2 separate regions of the Homo sapiens genome follow, and region 1 is linked to region 2. The links are contacts of gene promoters, found by promoter capture Hi-C in human tissues and cell types (Jung and others, 2019). All regions are on one chromosome and are shown on one strand. Each heading gives the region's core, a stretch centred on a gene start or on the middle of the fragment in contact. The rest is flanking DNA. Distances are from core to core; before and after follow the strand shown.

The links. The method cuts DNA at HindIII sites, captures the fragments that hold promoters and counts their contacts. A contact is called where the count stands out against the background at its distance.
Region 1: a contact is called between the fragment with the promoter of WRAP73 here and the fragment with the promoter of MORN1 in region 2, in 1 of the 25 tissues and cell types used here (lymphoblastoid cells).

Annotation. Positions count from the first base shown.
Region 1 is chr1:3,648,709-3,651,408 of GRCh38, forward strand. It overlaps WRAP73 (WD repeat containing, antisense to TP73), which reads right to left and starts at 1,395. Exons shown (of 12, transcript NM_017818.4): 1 at 1,223-1,395. The coding sequence starts at 1,291. RefSeq lists an enhancer at 1,616-2,459. The HindIII fragment of the contact is 14,524 bases long and covers 1-2,700 here.
Region 2 is chr1:2,390,251-2,392,950 of GRCh38, forward strand. It overlaps MORN1 (MORN repeat containing 1), which reads right to left and starts at 1,304. Exons shown (of 14, transcript NM_024848.3): 1 at 1,208-1,304. The coding sequence starts at 1,283. It overlaps RER1 (retention in endoplasmic reticulum sorting receptor 1), which reads left to right and starts at 1,591. Exons shown (of 7, transcript NM_007033.5): 1 at 1,591-1,708. RefSeq lists silencers at 877-1,006, 1,167-1,236, 1,367-1,476, 1,577-1,876 and enhancers at 1,300-1,594, 1,463-2,335. The HindIII fragment of the contact is 12,081 bases long and covers 1-2,700 here.

The sequences.
Region 1 (2,700 bases), core at 145-2,644, 1.3 Mb after region 2:
AAAAAAACACCCAAGTTAAGCAAGCAGATGTAATCTTTCTCCTTATAATTCACTGAAATTTTCATAAATGGTAAAAACAAAAAACAAACCTCTCATTTAATTGAGGAGGGGGGCACATTGAAAATATACCAAGGCTGAGATGCCATTTAAACTAATGAGGTTTTCTGTTTTGTAGCTGATGCTATTTTATGTGATTTGGAATAAAACCTCCCTGAAGAGGTAAAAAACGTAATTTGAGAGTTAAACTCTCAAAAGCTAGACAGAGCACAGGAATGTCAGGAGTGGCAAAACCTGAAAAAGCATCATGATACATCAGTCAGTTAGTACAGGTGGTGGATAAGGAAAACGAAGCCCACTTTTTACGAGGCATGTTTCTTCTTAGTGGCTTTCCAATGCCAATTGTCCCCCTCTTCTGAGGACATACATACTAGGCATCCGGGTTATCCCTCTCTTCTGAGGATATACACTACTAGGCATCCAGGTACATACACTATATGTTTTGAAGCTTAAAGTTATAGCTCTGTGATTTAAGCACCCTTCTGCCACCCATGGAACGAAGACCTCAAATCCCAGCCATGAGGACAACTACTTCCTTACCTGGGGATAGAATACTAGTATTTAAATCATTTATTCGGCATGTGGTAGAGGAGAAGAGAATTAGAGGAGAAGTAGAGATGACAAAGTAGCCACACCACTTACCAGTTTACAGGCAACAGAATCATCAATTTGCCTTTTGTGACAAAGTAACAACAAAGAGCCGACATCTCCTATACCCTCACCTGTGTGCAGTCGGCACTGCCGATACCCACCTTTCCAAGGGCACCTCCCCAGACCCCCCACCTGTCTACGGTATCTTCCTGGGTCCCGCACCTGCCCGGGCACCTGCCGGGGTCCTGCACCTGTCCGGCCCCCATATCTGCTTGGGGTACCTGCCTGGGCCCCGCACCTGCTTGGGGTACCTGCCTGGGCCCCGCACCTGCTTGGGGCACCTCCCCGGGCCCTCCACCTGTCTAGGGTATCTTCCTGGGTCCCGCACCTGTCTGGGGCACTTGCTCAGACACTGCACCTGCCCCGGGTACCTGCCCGGGCCCCGCACCTGTCCGGGCACCGCACCTGCAGGATCCCCAAGCTGCCTCCACCCACGCGGCCGCCCCCGGCCCTGCCCGCCGGGGACGCTGGCACCGAGGATGTCCTGCCCGTGGCCCAGGTCCCCGCCGCTCACCAGGTACTTGCCGTCCGGGGAGAACTTGCAGAGTAAGCTGGAGAGCTTGAATACCTCGGAGAAGTTCATGGCCGCCGCCTGCCGCGGGCGCCACCCTGCGCCCGAAAACCCGCGGGACCCCTGGGCGCGCAGCAGGCTGCAACAGCCGACGCCGGCCTCCGAGGCCGGAAGTCAGAAGGCGGAAGTGAACTGCAGCCTATCAGCGCCGCCGGCTTCCGCGCGGCATTGTGGGGCTTGTAGTTCTTGTGCCGCAGGGCTTTAAAGGAAACGCCCACGTTTCTTCCGACCAGGGATTTCCGACCCGAGAACCTTACCTCAAAGGCCGGGAGGCCTTTGAGCACCTCCAGCTAGGGCTGCTGATAAAAATGTAGAAAGCACAGTAAAATTTGAATTTCAGATTCACAACAAATCTAGTTATAAGTATGTTCCCAAATATTGCACGGGACATGCTAATACGGAAAAATTACTCGCTAGTCTGAAATTCAAATTTAATTGAGCGACCTGTGTGTCTGCGTGTGTGTACACATGCATATATATATATTTATATTTATATGTAAATGTATGTTTACATGTAAATATATGTTTACCTACAAATATATCTTTAATAAGTAATACGGTGTCTGTCGCACATATATTATATCGTGTATGTAATGTATAAGTATTTATTTCGTTTGCTTGGGGTTTTGTTTGCTTTTGCTGAGTCCGACCCCTCTACCTGCCGCCTGGCCCTTGCCTCACGCTCCAGTGCCACTGAGATCAAGGAGAGAACGAATTTGCCGCTGACTGGGCAGAGCGAGCGCGTGGATCGCGGCCACCGCCCGTTCATCACCCGCGCGCATCTGGGCTGGCACCGGGCGAAGAATCGTGCGGGTCTGGGACCTGGGGGCCCAGAGGGAGCGAGCTCCTGCGCGGGCGCTCGGTCCGCAGGTTTCGCAGGCTCAGGGGCGTGCCTCGTTCTCACCCCCACTCCGGACCCCGGTCCTCTTCCCTAGACAGCGGCCCCCTCCACCCCTGGCTCCCGCAGGCCGCTAGTAGTCCGCGCCAGGCCCCGCCGGCGCCTCTAGGGCCCCCCAGATCGCGCAGACCCTGACATCCCCGCCTGGCCCTGGGTTCTGGGAGCTGAGAGCCGGCCAGGGTCCTGCTCGTACCTCCGGGCGCCCAGCCTCGGGTCTGCTCCCCGCGGACGCCCCAACCTCCCCGGCCGAATGGATGGTGGTGCGCGCGCGTCCTACTCCGGCGGTGCCGGCCTTTTCTGTTGCCAAAACTAGACCCAAACCTCTGCATGGGATTCGTCTTTGGGTCCCCACCCCGTGCGCCCAGCAAACAGTGGGTGAGCCATGAAGATGTGCGAGTCAGCCGGACCCTCCCCGTCAGGCGCGGACCCGCTGCGGCCAGAGAACCCAGTCTGCGCCAGCCCGGCTCGCTCGCGAAGCCACGGGCTTCACTGACGCGACTTTCCAAGACGTGGGGGTCACCAT
Region 2 (2,700 bases), core at 54-2,553:
GCTGGCTTGAAACAACTGCAGGTCCTTGAGAGACCAGAGGTGCTCGGGAGGTGGTGAGGAGCAGGTTGGGAGCCTTGTTGCAGGAGATGAGTGAGCCAGGGGAAGGCAGAGCGGCAGTGTCAGTGAGGCACACAGGGGAGGAGCAGACTCTCCCATCCCCTGCCGTGGCCCTTCAGTGGCCTCCTATCGCTGGGGAGAAAATCCACACTCATACCCAAGGATGGCCTGGCCGGCTTCATCTCCTCCTAGTTGCTGGGTGTGCCACCCGCCAACTCCTGCAGTTCCAGGAATGGGCAGGGCTCCCTCCCTACCAGCTCCTCAGGCACATTTTGTGGGCAGGGTTTATGGGAAAATGTCGGGGAGGAGGGCAGGGGGTTACTACAGGCTACTGTATCTGTCCCAAATCAGGGTCAGGTTCTACCTGAAGATAGTAGTGTTAGCTCTGAGTTCATTCCAGACCCGTTTATTTGATTCTAGAAACAGTTCCTATCAAAACCTGCTCTTTTTTTTTTTTTTGAGACTGAGTCTTGCTCTGTCGCCCAGGCTGGGGTGCAGCGGCGCGATCTCGGCTCTCTGCAACCTCCGCTTCCTGGGTTCAAGCGATTCTCCTGCCTCAGCCTCCCGAGTAGCTGGAACTACAGGAGGCACCACCCCGGGCCAATTTTTGTATTTTTTAGTAGAGACCGGGTTTCGCCATGTTGGCCACACTGGTCTCGAACTCCTGACCTCAGGTGATCCACCCGCCTCGGCCTCCCAAAGTGCTGGAAGTACAGGCAAAAACTGCTTTTGAAACGCGTCCTAGCGTTTCTGGACAGCACCGGCCAGGAAGTCAGGAGGCTTGGTGCTGCTCCTGCGCCTGCCCTCGCCCCAAGTCCTGGGCTTCGGGATCCCCATGGCAACCCCAGGTCCCGCTGGCTGTGAGGCTGCGGCCGGAACCCGGTCTTCCCGGCTAGGAGCCCGCGGGGGGCGACCCCCTGCAGGGCTTGGCCTGCTGCGGGAGGAGGGCTCGGGGAAGGGTGCGAGCCGAGCCCGAGGCGCACGGCGAGTCCTGTGGGAGTGGGGGACGCGGGGGCGGCCCTGGCTCCGCCGCGGCACCTGGACCTCTACTTTCCGAGGTGAGCATTTGGGGGTCGAGGGCGTAGAGCGATCGCACCCTGAATGGAGCCCAGGGCAGCCAGCGACCTGTCCCGTGGCCCGCAGTCGTTACCGTTCCGGGGCGGCCGCCTAGGCGGGTCCCGACGCGGCCCGCGGGAGCTCGGGGTGCCCTCGCCCGCCGCTGCCATCTTGCCGCCGAGGGTTCTCTTAGCGACCAGCAACGCCCGCTTCCATTGGTCTTTGTCGCAAGGGGGGGTGTGGCCACGGGCCTAGTCCCTGAGCCCGCGCAATCTCTGGAGCGAAGCTAGCCGGGCCCGGAGCCAGAGGACGCAGCTGCGCCTGTGCGCGTTTCCGCCGCTGTCGTCTCTTCCGCCGGGAGGCCCGCCCGCCAACGGCCTGCGCGTCTGCGCCGGAAGCGGAAATGGTTGGAGCCCTTGGCCCCGCCCTCGCGCCATCTTGGGGGCCCTGGAGGCGGCGCCGCGGAGGACGGAGCGGAAGTGCTCGCTGCAGCTTCCCGGAGCCGGAGCGCAGCGCCTGCGGCCGCCCGTGCCCCGCCGTCCTCCTTCCCGCGGCCGTGAGGGAGACCGCGGCTCGGCCGTAGCGGAGCTGCGAGGTGCCAGGAAGGGCTGCGTGGCGCGGGAACGGCCGGGCAGCGCCGCCTCCGCTTCTTCCGGGCTGTCAAGGCCGCGGGCGGGCGGGGCCGCGCTGAGGGCCGGGCGGGGAGGGCCGTCGGGGCCCGGGTGGCCGCGGGGACCGTGTTCCCGACCCGCGGCCCTGAGGGGTACGGGTCGCGCCTCGGGGTCGGGCCCGGGACGGGGTGCTGGGGGGTGCGGCGGAGCCCTGGGGCCTGCGAGGGTCGGGGGAGCGGGAGAGGGGCCGGGCGGGGGCTGCAGCCCTCGAGCCACCCGGGCCGCATCTCGTCCGCATCCCCTGCTTGGCATCTGGGGGAAGCGGGCAGTCGCGGCCCCCACAGCGCTGCGAGTTGGGCTGTATTCCAGAGTAATGTGCCCTGTCCCCATCCTGCGTCCAGGTCAGCGCTTATCTGTAGGATTTAGTGTTAAGCTCTGGGGTGAAGGCGTTACTGACGGGCTGAAGGGAAACTAGTTACATCGGTTTTGATCGTATTCTAAATAGGCAATAAAATCATAAATTCTCCAGGCTGACTTAGTACTGGTCTGTGGCCCCACTGATAAAGGTATCGTTCGTTTCTCTGCCAGGTGTCTCACAGCACAGAGGGCTGCTTTCAGCCTAAGTACCTTCAGTGGGCTTTTGCCCTTTTCCCTTTATGAAGAGTAGAGACTGGCCGCTAGTCCTGGAAGCACTTTATTTTTAGTTGAGTTGACATTTCCCAGGAAGATGCAGTTATCCCCGTAAGTGGATAAAGGGTTCTCAGTAATTCAGACTCTCACATGGCTTCTGCCGTATGCCTGAGGTGACGGCGACGGCGGTAACAGTGTGTCAGAGCCAGGTGGAGATATAAGATGGTCAGGCCCAGAGGAGCGGGGAGCCCAGGCTGGAATGTGGCCTTGGGAAGGAGGAAGAGACGGGGTCTGGGAGGGCATTTCAGAGGACTGAACAACACCAGAGGCGTGAAGCTTGGTGCAC